Linked DNA regions of Homo sapiens: region 2 is linked to region 1. The links are contacts of gene promoters, found by promoter capture Hi-C in human tissues and cell types (Jung and others, 2019). All regions are on one chromosome and are shown on one strand. Each heading gives the region's core, a stretch centred on a gene start or on the middle of the fragment in contact. The rest is flanking DNA. Distances are from core to core; before and after follow the strand shown.

Region 1 (6,593 bases), core at 2,420-4,919:
AACAAAGCAAGTCCTGCCAACTTGAAATCATAAACTGAGTAGGATCACCCAAGGAGGCTTAAGAATCTGGAATCTCTCTTGATTGGCATTGACTGCATGGTGGTGAGAAGAGACAGCTCCTGCTAGTGGGTAGTAAGGTTCCACCTGCCACAGGGTGCTAGAATGAGAGTGGGAAGATGAAGAGGCCAAGCCAGTAATCTATGATGTTGGGCCAGACGTGGGCTTCTCAGGGTAGGAAGATCAAGAAATGAAGTAGGGTCTTGAAGCAAGCAAGCCATAGCAGAACTAGAAAACTACATCCTGCCTTTGTTTTTTATGTCTCCTGCTTATTTGTTTCCCCTCTTTTCTTTTGCTCCCCGCTTGGTAGCAGCATAAAAACATAGTGAACATTCTACCATCTCATGGCTATTCAAGGAAAAGGATTTATGTCCTTGTTTGACCAAGAGCTCAAAGGAAGTGCTGTACTCCTGGGTTCCCAGTGTGGTTGTTGTGATAGCAATAAACCAAGAGAGAGATGCCAAGTGGGAGGTGGAATTCAGGAAGATGAGAAATGCAGGGGTAGGAGTTGGGGGACAGATTTTCTCTTAACATGAAGGATGTCTGGATATGCTATTCTTTCCTCAGCCTATGAGAGAGTATTGGTAATGTTCACTGGAGAAGGATATTAGTCTAACCTATATACAGAGTCTTGGCAAAGGACTAACTCTCTAGTCCTCCCCGCCCCCCACACCCTCTTGCAGGAAGGAGGCAGCAGAAAGCTGTGGCATTGATAAAGGACCCCATAAGCTGCATTTTGAACACCTCTAGCTCAATTACTTTCATACAGATCTTCCCCGAGAGACCCCAAATGCAATGTTGCATGTCCAGAGTCAACTGTGTTCTGTTAGCTAATTGATGTTGGTTGAAACATAAGGGGAGAATTGAAAGCTAAGCCTTCAGAAATATATACCGGATGGATGAAGGGCAAGAAAGCAGACTGGAATGGCTGAAGCTGCAGCAGAGGGAAAATTCTAGAAGGAAAGAGAGAGAGAGATTTTCATGCTTGAAAGCATTCATTTGCAAGGAATTGAGTGTGCTGGAGAAAGGGGTTTTTGGTGGCAAGAGAATGAGAGACATCTGGAGAACATGTAGGGAAAGGAGAGAGAAAGAAGATGCCTCAATAGCAGAGAAGGCTGGAGGCACCTAGGAAGTAGGATCATAAGGTATCATGTGGAAGGTAGGAATGGAACCAAGATGTACTAATTACCACTATGTGCTAGGCACGAGCTGTTCTCCTGATTATCTCATTTAATCCTCACAATGTCCGGCACACTGCCTGGCATATAGTAGGCACTCAAAAATATGTTGAATATTTAATATTAACTAAATAAAAATAAAATGTTTAATATTAAATCAATAAAAGTGTGAACAATCCTAAGAGATGTCTATTACCAATTACATCTTACAGATAAGAACATGAGGCCCAGAAAGGTTAGGAAACTTGCCCAATATGTCACAGCTAGGGAGAGGTGGAAGGACAATGACTTCAAAGTTCCAGCGGTGGAAGGTGGGGGGTAATTTGTAAAGATCCTGTGGGTAATCTAGAAAAAGGTATGGTGCTTGGGTGTTGCCCAGAGACTGAGAAAGGGAGGAAAGAATGAAGGGCCAAGGGAACTGGGCTAGGGAGGAGGGCGAGAGGCCACTTGGAAAGAATTCTTCTTCTGGAAGAATGGGGACCCTGCAAAGGGCAACATCCAGGCTAACGCAGCAGGTGAGTTGGATGGGGGCACGACGGAAGCACAGCCTCTGCTGACATTGCAAAGGGTCTCTGTGGGAAGGCAGGGATCTGAGGTGGGAGGGATGGAGAAAAGGGCTACAGCGGTAAAGTGAAAGAGCCAGGCAGGCTGAGATGGAATATACTAACAGCTTGCGCATGGGACAGGGCAGAAGAGAAGGCTTCGACAGGAGGTGGCCTGGGAGGCGGCTGGGGAGAGGGTGTGGCCTGGGACTGGAGGGAGGCTGCACGCTAGGCCTGCGCTGGGGATCCTGGGCCCCGGGCAGCCCGCGGGGAGGGTCTGCGTGGTGACTCCCCCGCGCTAGCAGCGGCCGCGTCTCACCTGTAGGAGCTGCTCACTGCACTCGCCACCTCCTCGCGGATTTGCCGGTTGAGGGCGTCCGCCGCGGCGCGCCCCCTGCCAGCCTCGGGGCCGGTGGCCTGGACCTGGGCCTGGGCCGCGGGCAGCGGCGTCTGCTCGTGCCCCAGGCCCTCGGCGCGGCGCACAATCCAGGCAGGCCCGGCCTTCCTGCGCGTGTCGCGCTCGTCCGCCCCGGACGCCTTTCCGGCCGCCAGGCCACCCGCTCCGCCGGGGGCCGCCTCCTGCTCCCGGGCCTCAGCGGCGGCCTGCACTGGCCAGCGCTCCTGGCTCTGCGGCCGGCGCTTGGGCGCCCCGAGAATGGGCGCCGACGCCTGGGAGGCCGCAGAGATCTGCACGGGCTTGGGGATCCACGGGTGGTCCCCGCGGCGCGGCAGCGGCCAGGCGCGGAAGTCCTTCTGGTACTGGGTCTCGCGCTCGAAGGGAGCGTCGGAGGGCTGGTATTCGCTGCGCGGCCGGCAGCTGGGCTCGGGCCGCTGCACCTTCCAGGCTCGGTAATCCTGCCGCATCACCGAGTCCGCGGGGCCGGAGGTGGAGCCGGAGCCCAGGCCCGGGCCCGGCCCGCTCCGGCCGGGGCCCGCCGCCGGCTCGCGCTCGCCGGTAGGCCCAGGCGCTGGCCCCGTTGCCCGGGCAACTGCATCCAACTCGCCCTGGGCTGGCTGCGTCTCTATGGCAACCGCGCGCGCCGAGGGGGGCGCGAGCGCCGGCTGCGCCTGCTGCTGCGGCGGCGGTGGCTGCGGCGGGGCGCCCGGGTGCTCGGTGGCCTCCGAGTACTTGGTGAAAACCAGCGGCACAGCGATGTCCGCTTTGTCCAACTGGTTCCAGAAGCGGGCGATGCAGCAGGCCCTCGTGATGCACGGCCACGCCATGATGCTAGCTGAAAAGCCGGCCTCCTCTTTCTTCTTGTGGTTCTAAAGCAAGTCTCTATAATCTTCCTTCAGCCTCCGATCCTGACCGGCCAATGTGGTTCCCACCGTTTTCTACCCCCGATCAGCCGGAGCTAGTTCGCCCTCCTCCCTCAGCGAGCACCCGGGGAGAGCTGTCCTAGGAGAGTCTGTAGAGTCCCTCGATTACCGGTCGCAAACGCCTTTGGGAGCGCAGTCTGCTGCGAGCGCCGAAGGGTGAGACGCACGGCGTTCCCGAGTCCCCGGCGAGGGTGTCTGGGACGCGCCCCTCCCTGCGGCTGCGGCGGCGCACAGACCTCGGTCGAGCGAGGCGACGTGAGGAGAGGTGGCTACAGGCTTAAGCCATGGCGCAGAGGAGGGGCCGGGCGGTGTGGCCGCAGGGTCCGCGGACCGGGCTCGAGTCTCCTTCCTGCCGGCGTCCTAGTGCAGCCGGCCACCTAGCAGGGCTGGGAGGCCATCACCTCCAGCGGAGACCGAGCATTGCTGCCTCCGCCGCTGCCCGCGAGGATGCCGCAGCCGCCGCCGCCACCGCCTCTTCTCCTGGGAAGCGACCCCACCCTTTTCTGCAGCTCTCGGTCTCCGCCGCTGCCCGCGAATGATGCTGCAGCCGCTGCCGCCGCCGCCTCTGCCTCTGCTGCAGGGAAGCGGCCCCACCCTTTTATGCTGCTCAGCAGTGAGAAAAAAATCCAGGAACGATGCTGACTGAAAGAGTGCTGCAGAAAAAAACAAAACAAAACAAAAACACCTGCTGTCGTCAGCTTGCGCTGCTGGGAGCTTGCCTTCCCTCCCCACCACCCTCCGCCCTGGCAGCTCCTCCCTCCTCTACTCCCGGGCAACAGCAGAATCTGGGGACGTAGTGGGTTCAAGTCCCAAGCTCGTGAGGACTTTCTGTCCTTGTGCTTGTCGCTTCATCCCCAGGAGTCGGAGGCTCCTCTTTTGTAAAATAGGGCCAATGGGGGGGGGGGGTGCTATTAAATTTTAAAACATGGAGGAAACTCCTAGTGAAATGTCTGTCCCAGAATAGATGCTTTGAAAAGGGGAGCTGCTGGAATTGGTCAAAACCGGCGGGCTGTGTTTGAGCCCAGTTTGGTTGCCTCCTGGTTCAAGCACTTGCCAGTCTTACGCACAGGCCTTGCTCAGATGTGTCGGAATGGGAGCACCAGGGCTGGTGGTGCCCTGGATGTTCCTTTCCTAGGGAATCTTTGCGAAGGTATGTTTTAGACTCCCCCAAGAACCGCCCAGTCCCTGTTCAGTTCAGGTGCCACACTGGGGCAGAGGTAGAGAAAAGAAAATTCTGGAAAGTGGCTTAATTGTGGAGGTTGGGAGTAGGTAGGACCTGTGCCCTAGGAAACGGCAGTGCCTGGCCTGCAGGGGCCTTCTGGCACGTTCTCACTCCTCGCCGTTGCTCTTCTTCTATCTTCAAAGCAGAAGAGATTTTGAAGTCCGAAAGACCTGGTTTGGCTCTGCTACTCTCTGTGCCACTTGGGCAAGTTGAGTCATCCCTGTGTTTCAGTCTCCTCATCTGTAGAATGGAGGAAATACTACCTGCCTCAAAAATGGTTTTGTGGGCCGGGCGTCGTGGCTCACACTTGTAATCCCAGCACTTTGGTAAGCTGAGGCCGGTGGATCACCTGAGGTTGGGAGTTCAAGACCACCCTGGCCAACATGGTGAAACCCTGTCTCTACTAAAAATACAAAAATTAGCTGGGCATGATGGTGCGTGCCTGTAATCCCAGCTACTCAGGAGGCTGAGGCAGGAGAATCGCTTGAACCTAGGAGGTGGAGGTTGCAGTGAGCCGAGATAGTGCCATTGCACTCCAGCCTGGGTGACAAGAGCAAAACTCCATCTCAAAAAGAAAAAAAAAGTGGTTTTGTGAGGATAGCGAAGGACCCAGGGCAGAAGCTTTGAGTCAAATCTAATCTGCAGAGATTCAAATCCTGGCTTTTGTAGCTCTTAACTGTATGGCAGTGGGCAAATCACTGCAATCTTCTGACCTTCAGTTTCATCTATGAATGGGGGTACCAATACTGAACTTGCAAGGTTGTTCTGAGAATTAAAATGAGATAATGCACTAAAAATGCTTACCACAACATCTGGCATATGGCAATGGCTCAATAAATGGTAGCTATTAGTATCCAAAAGGCCCACCCAGAAGACCCATAAGTGGAGTGTCCTAAGAAGCCACTTGGACACCTTCTCCAGGAGACCTCTTGTTCCTCCAAGTAACTTTTGTTCTGTCTTTGCTATCTCTCCATTTATGTCTCCTGCACTCCTCCACTAGCTACATCCACTGGACTTCAGCTCTTTTCCCCTCCAATATAGGCAGAGTTTTCAGTATCAGTTAAGCTGGGAGCATTGGTGTTTCAGGGAGAGAAAGTCATGTATGTGTTTAGATTATAAATGGGTTGCACAACACAGATTTTCTTTAATCCTAGAATCAAATTGGATGAGAAGACAGCTCTGATTAGTCAATTATCTACTGAACTTCCTCCTACTTAGGACTTTGCCTCTTGGTGATTTGATTTGAGTTCCATAAATAAAATAATGTCTGGTGCTGTTTTCCAGTCGTTAGGAGATATATTTTTATAAAGAACATAATCTGGTCGTACATTTCCTCTTCTCACCCCTGCAGAACTCCCTGGGATTTGGCTGATGCATTTCCAATAATGATTTCCAAAGGTTTAAAAAAGGCTAAAAATTGGAGGGAGGATGTCTATTCTGAGAATCACTGATAGTTTATCCTTCTTTCATTTAACAAGTCTAGTCTCCTGATGCCTACTTTGTGCCTTGAGGACTATAGGACACATATGGATTATAGCTCTGGAGGAGCCCTCACTTGAAAGAATGTGTTATTGGAGAACTGAGAGACAGACACATAAGTAAATAATTATCAAAGAGTATGGTCAACATAACAGAGGTTAACACTGGTGCTGAATGAATGACTAGTAAGAGATGAGAAGGAGTTCTCCCAGCATGAGAAGTGTAAGGAAAATTTTATCGTTAACATCACCTTCCACATTTATTTACTTGGATTTGAAAAATGCATTCAACCTCCCTGGACCATCCAATGACCCTGTGGGACAGACAAGTCTAGTGGTCATCTCTTATATGGCTTATTTAGCAATCATTCGGGTGGTCACAGCACCTCATCATTTGAATTTTGAGGGCCACTCTTCTATTTTCAGGCCATGTGGTTCAGGTGGAGGTAATCCTAACCCACCTACCTTCCAGGGGTGCCCATATGACTCACACCTGTTTGCCAGGGGGATGCATCTTCCTGGTCAAAGTGACTAGTTTAGTGATGGGGGTGTGATCCACATTAGACCAGTTAAAGAAACCCCAGACTTTAGCTGAAACTATCCTAAAGACCCACTCTCCTTTTTTTTTTTTTTCTAGAATTGCTAAAATGGAAGACTATGAAGCTACTGTTAGTGGTCATCTTTGCCATTACTGGTGGGGAGGCTTCCTAAGGTTGAAGCAAACACAGAGAAAATCAGAAGGGGGCACAGGATTCTGATGATATCTACACCCCAGAGCCCATTCTTCTCTTCTTCC
Region 2 (5,990 bases), core at 2,714-5,213, 41 kb before region 1:
GTGGGGCCTAGGAGAGCAGAGGTGGCATCTGACCCATCTCTGCGTCCCTGGTGCCTGGTTTGGAGGCTGGCATGTTTCAGCATGCACTCAAGTCAGTGTTACTGAACCAACGAATAAACACCTTTGTCTTACGTTTTTTTTGAGATGGAGTCTCGCTCTGTCGCCCAGGCTGGAGTGCAGTGGCGCTATCTCGGCTCACTGCAACTTCTGCCTCCCGGGTTCAAGCAATTCATCCATGATGAAAGTGGCATGAAATACCACTTCTATTGCATTTTGTGCTGCTTTTGATTCTTGTTGCTACTGATTCCCTGGAAGTGATGCTGATGAAGCCCGGCTGCCCACACTGAGACCCTTGGCTGCCCACACTGTCTCACCTGCGGTGGCCAGAGCTCTGGGGTGCATCAGGGATGTGCAGCCAGGCCAGCAGCGGGTGGGCAGTCTGGTGAGTGAATCATGGACTTCATTTACCCAGGCCCAACTAACCTTCTCTGGCTTCGATATCTCTCTTTCTTTTCACATTGTAATTTTACTTTCGGCAAGCTTTTCAGCAACCTGCTAACTCTAGGAGAAGTAATAGACATGCTCAGAGGTGTCAGTGTCTGAGAAAATGTGAGACTTGTTTTTCAGGCCATGAAATCCAGAGAGGCTTCCTCAGAAATGGGATGTGGAATTTCATCATGAAGCTGTAGCACAAAACTTGCCTGGGCTGGGACCCAGGGTGACAGTGATGTGCTGTGGCCAGCACCTCAGAGGCCAATTGCTCAGGGTGGCTGCACCACTTCCTTAATTCCTCTCTATGCCAGAGGGGTGGGCGGCACTTACATGCACTCACTCTCTCACCATCAGCACAGCCCAGTAAGGCTGGAGGCCCCCTGGCTCCCAGAGAGGTTCAAGGTCTTCCCTGAAGTGTCATGGCCAGTCAGGGCCTGACTGGAACCCAGGCCCATCCAACTCCGTATCTCAAGCTCCACGAGCTGCCCTGTAGATGCCTGAAGCATGTTCATTAGCCTGTGTCTGCATGAACTATCCCTGCCTTGAATTTTCTGCTTCTCTTTTCTACCCGAGATGCAACTTAAATATAGGCCAAAAAAGGGAGTAGATAGAAAAAGGCTAAGGGCACAAGTCAGCATAATGCATAGACCCATCAGGAGAATAGTCATGTTCTTTCGAAAGGCATGATCACCTTCACAGCACGTCCCTACCTGGCTCCAGGCTCATATTCCAATGGACAACAAGTGCCTACTGAACACACTTTGCACACAGCAGGTGCTCAGCCTACATAGTAAGCATTGTTTCATGCCGCTGGGCCTCTGCTGGCGATTCTGTTCAACACGCATTGAGGATGCATCCTAGAGTAACAAAAAGATGTGAACTGGCCTCTAACAATGTTCAGCTGAGTGGGGCAGTAAGCCTCACTCAACACAAAGAAAACAAAAGTACACACCAGAGCCTGGGGAGAGCAGGTGCTCTGGGAGTTCAAGGGCCTCGCCGAGGAATCTCAGGGCAGTTTTAGAAGAGTAGGGATTTTCAGGCAGGGAAGGAGAGGCACTGACATTTCTGCAATCCTTCCCTCCCAGCATTCATAAGAAGATCATCCCCACAAACTCATTAGCACAGCCACAGCGCTTGGAGTCATCTTTAGAGGCATTTTCCAGGCAGCCTGGGATGGCAGGTCCAAGCCCATCATGTCATGTGCATTCAGCTGAGCAAACAAAGCCCTTGAAAACACCTAGTCTTTGGGGGAAGCAATTAATATTTCAAAGGAAGCCTCCTTCGCATCAGCACCCTGCATTCTTTATCTGTCAGCTATGCAGGTGGTCAGGCTGGCATCCTGAGACTGAGGGGGAGAGAAGAGAAGAGGATGTTGGGGCCTACAGTGTGCACCAGATGCTGCACAAACATGCCCTCAATCCCCACACAGTGCCACCAGGCAGGGACCTCCCCTCATTCTAATGAGAAAACCAAAGCCCAGAGAGGTGAGCGATTTGCTCAAGGGCACACAGCTAACAAACAGGAGGACCAGAACTCAAATTCAAGAGTGAACCATTAACTTCAGATCTGACACTTTCCTACTGTTCTACAGCAATCAGTTTCTGTACAGAAAACAAAAAACAAACAAACAAAAAGAATCCCACAACTTTTTTCTCTTACTTAAATATCAAAATAAAATTTGGTACCAATCACATGCACAAATTACAGTACCAGAAGGGAGGCACACTTCTGCCATGGTTGAAAATAGGCTTGGCCTGATTAAAAGACCTCTGTTAATTCCTCATCTGGAGGATCAAGGCCAGACTCCCCAGCCAGACCACGGGTCCAGTCCAGCACAGCCCACTTCTGTAGGCCCATTGCCTCCCACTCTCGTCCTCTGAGTAGCTTATCTACATCCCTGGTCTTTGCTTATATTGCTCTCTTTCTAGAATGCTCTCCCAGGCCCCATGCTCTTTGCTTGACCTCACACGTATCACCTCTGTGAGCCATCACTGACCCCTAAGACAGGATGAAAACTCTCACTCCAGCTTCCACACGGCATCCCAGTCTGCTGCAGTCATCTCTTGACAAGCATATATCCTCTCTGAACTGGATGCCCTAGAGGACAGGAGCGTATCTGAGCCTAGCCCAGCACAGAGCAGGCACTGAGAAAAGGCTTGCTGAGTGAATATGACTGCATAAGAATCATGGAGTAGCAGAGCTGGACAGACATCTGAACACTTTCATTTTATAGCTAAGAATTATATGAAGGCCAGTAGAGGCAAAGAAGGTGGAGCGGTAAGGAGGGACCACACACTGGAGCTCAGGCTTGACCCTGGAAGCAGCAGGAGCCACTCAAGACCTAAGAGCAGAGGAGTGACGTGATGATGTGGCCCGGGAGGTATTTTGTTTTGGTGACTCAGACCACTTTGGGGCAATAAGAGGCTGGGATAGGGAGAGACTGGAGGCTGCAGATTCAAGTATGTTTTATTTAATAATAATCTAAATTACAAACTTAGTGTCACTTCTGCTAATAAATTATTTAAGGCATTTATTGAGTGCCTGCAGCAATTATAATATCGGTACCCTTTACTGAGGGCCCACTGTGTATCAGGTGCTTTGCATTCATTACTTAATTTAAATCTCAGAGCCACCTTTTGAGTTAGGCACTATTACTTTCTGTTTTATGGATGAGGAAACTAAGCTCAGAGAGGTGAGGTTACTCATCTAGGGCCTCAGAGAGACTACGATCCAGGCCCTGGGAAGAAAAGACAAGGAGCCCACAATCTAGTGAAGGGCAGAAGAGGAAAATAAATGATTTGAGTCATTTGATATCAGAGGTGCTATAACCCATAGAAACAGAGGGAGGTGAGGAGGCCCAGAGTGGGCCCTGTAACCACTGGCAGGAGGCGATGAGTGAAATCTAATTGTGACGGGTGGCAGAAAAAAATGCATTACAAATTGAAAACAGGCCTACTGTCCTATTACTTATGTTTTCTCTTTTTGGAGCAGAGCCAAACTGTGTATAACCTAGGAAATGGCTGAAAGCAGAGAGGAAATATGCAGAGCATCCCTCTGTGAGATTCAAAAATCATCTTCATGCTTGTAATCATTCAACACAGACACTCCGCACCTGACTTCCCAACAATGGGATTAGCCCGTCTTTCTGCCCCAGGGAACTCTGTGCCATTTGGAGAGACCTAGGGGTCCTGGAAGAGAGATGCTGATGGTCCAGCAGCAGCTGGCCTCACACAGGCCTACAACTTAATTAGGTTCCTGGGAGGGCAGTGTGCAGAGATAAACCAGTTAGTAAGGGGCACCAGAGTGCTGGGTGTGGAAGTGTCAGCATCAAAGACACGCCTAAACGGCCTCTGCTCTGCACATGTGGCTGTGCTTGCACGTACGTCCATGTCTGTATGTGTCTTTGTGTGTGTGTGCTCTGGCCAAACAGTAGGAGGAGGGAGGGTTGGAAACAAAAGGACCTGAAAACAAGGGGACCGTCACAGTGAGAAACTGATTTGCTTTCAGACTAATGATGGTAATGGTGATGATCGTGAAGGTAGATGACAGAGAAGCTTCTTGGTTCCAGAAACTGTATGAGGCACACTTTTTCACTACCTCATTCAATCGTCATGGAGATCCTATGGAGTAGACACTGTTATTATCATCCTCGTTTTACAGATGAGGAAACAGGAGCTCAGGGGGTTCCGTGTCTTGACCTTGGACAGCAATAAGTAGAGATGTTAGAATTAAACAAAAATACTACAATTAGGAGCCATGTCCCAGAACTGAAATGGAACATTCAGCTGAGGCACTGAGACAATACCAAAGCAGGCACAAGGTCACAATGCAGGATCCTCAAAGGAAAGGCTGAGAATGGTGGAGGGAGAGGACGTTGGCAAGAGCTCTGTGTGCTGTGACGGGGCTACTTCTCCCTTCGACTGAAATCAAGAGAGAGGCTCAAGGACACCCGGATCTCAGGGGCTGTGCTGGAGCCATAGCTGACTCATCTGAGAGACAAGGCCCAGGAGACAGCTGGCTAGCTGGTCTTGGAGCAGAGGGAGAGAGAAATGGTTGTGTTGGGGGTGGCCTGTACTCTGTTTGCTGGAGCAAAGAATGCACGGTGCTGTTTTCCTGGAGCAGATGGGGTCAAGAGGGCCAGCTGAAGTGGCAAACAGATCCCACCAGAAAGAAGCTGGAGGGACTGCAGGATGCTGGGGGTGAGGAAGGAGTATGGGAGCAGCCAGAGAGATTCACATTTATCAAGGGACTGTGGTATGAGATTCAAAGTGATGGGTGGGGGCCTCCAAAGAACCCAGCAAAGCACCCGCAAGACAAAGATCCCAGCTTAAACACCTGCTGGGGGACATCAGTCACCATGGCCACACGGGTCCAAGCGAGAGCTTGCCTCCTCCCCGCCCTTGCTCCCCGAATACCAACCCTGGAAAGGTGAGGAGCTGGGGGAGGGGAGGACAGGGCAGTAGAAGCCCACTGTAGGCATCTCCTCTGCAGCAGGCCAGAGCGGCAGGAGGGAGAAAAACATTCACTTTAAATAGACTGACTACTTTGACTATTACATAGGACTGAACATTTAAATTACTGGAGGACTTTTATTTCCTGACATTTGCCAAGTTACAAGACTTCCCTAAATATTGTACAAGTTATGAGACCCATCCAAAATTTTGTGAAAGGGGAGGGGAAGAACTTGACCTGGAGAATAAATTTAAAGGGATAGTGGGAGGCAAAAATAAAATCACCTTGCAATTATGTCTGATGAGCTGCATTTGTTGAACGTAAAAGTTACATTTACAATGAATGAAAACTTACTGTGTGCCAGAAGCTTTAATAATAGATTTGCTTGATCTAATTTAATCTCAAATTAACCCTGCAAGATAGAAGTTACTACTCCTATTTTACATGTTGGAACACAGAGGCTCTGTGAGGTAAAGAGATCTGCCCAAAGTCACAGAGCTGGCAAGTGGCAGTGCTGGGACTCAGGCTCACAAAGACGAAAAGCCTGCGTCTTTCATTTTTTTATTTTTATTTTTTGAGACAAAGTCTTGCTCTTTACTCAGGCTGGAGTGCAGTGGTGCGATCTCGGCTCACTGCAAATTCCGCCTCCTGAGTTCAAGTGATTTTCCTGCCTTAGCCTCCGAAGTAGCTGGGATTACATGCATGTGCCACAATGCCTGGCTAATTTTTGTATTTTTAGTAGAGATGGGGTTTCACCATGTTGGTCAGGCTGGTCTCCAACTCCTGGTCTCAAGTGATCCTCCTAACTCGGCCTCCCAAAGTGCTGGGATTACAGGCATGAGCCACCACCCCCTGCCAAGCCTGGGTCTTTCTATCGTGTCTCTGCTTGGGACTTCTGCAGGTCAACTTGTGCCAATAAAAGTGGTGCTCAGGGTGGGAGCTTTTCTGGCATCCTGCATATGAAGTACATTTTTTTCCCTGAATTAATTCTGTCCTCATGCATTCAATAAAGCTTTCACTATAAAGGGCAAAAGACTTTGCTCAAA

What was found. The method cuts DNA at HindIII sites, captures the fragments that hold promoters and counts their contacts. A contact is called where the count stands out against the background at its distance.
Region 2: a contact is called between a fragment that was not itself captured here and the fragment with the promoter of MAP6 in region 1, in 1 of the 25 tissues and cell types used here (pancreas).

Annotation. Positions count from the first base shown.
Region 1 is chr11:75,665,369-75,671,961 of GRCh38, forward strand. MAP6 (microtubule associated protein 6) reads right to left here and starts at 3,670. Exons shown (of 4, transcript NM_033063.2): 1 at 2,097-3,670. The coding sequence starts at 3,001. The HindIII fragment of the contact is 8,929 bases long and covers 1-6,593 here.
Region 2 is chr11:75,623,587-75,629,576 of GRCh38, forward strand. All of the region lies in intron 1 of MAP6 (microtubule associated protein 6), which reads right to left. Among named protein-coding and RNA genes, the nearest start is that of MAP6, 42 kb to the right of the region's middle. The HindIII fragment of the contact is 3,340 bases long and covers 2,294-5,633 here.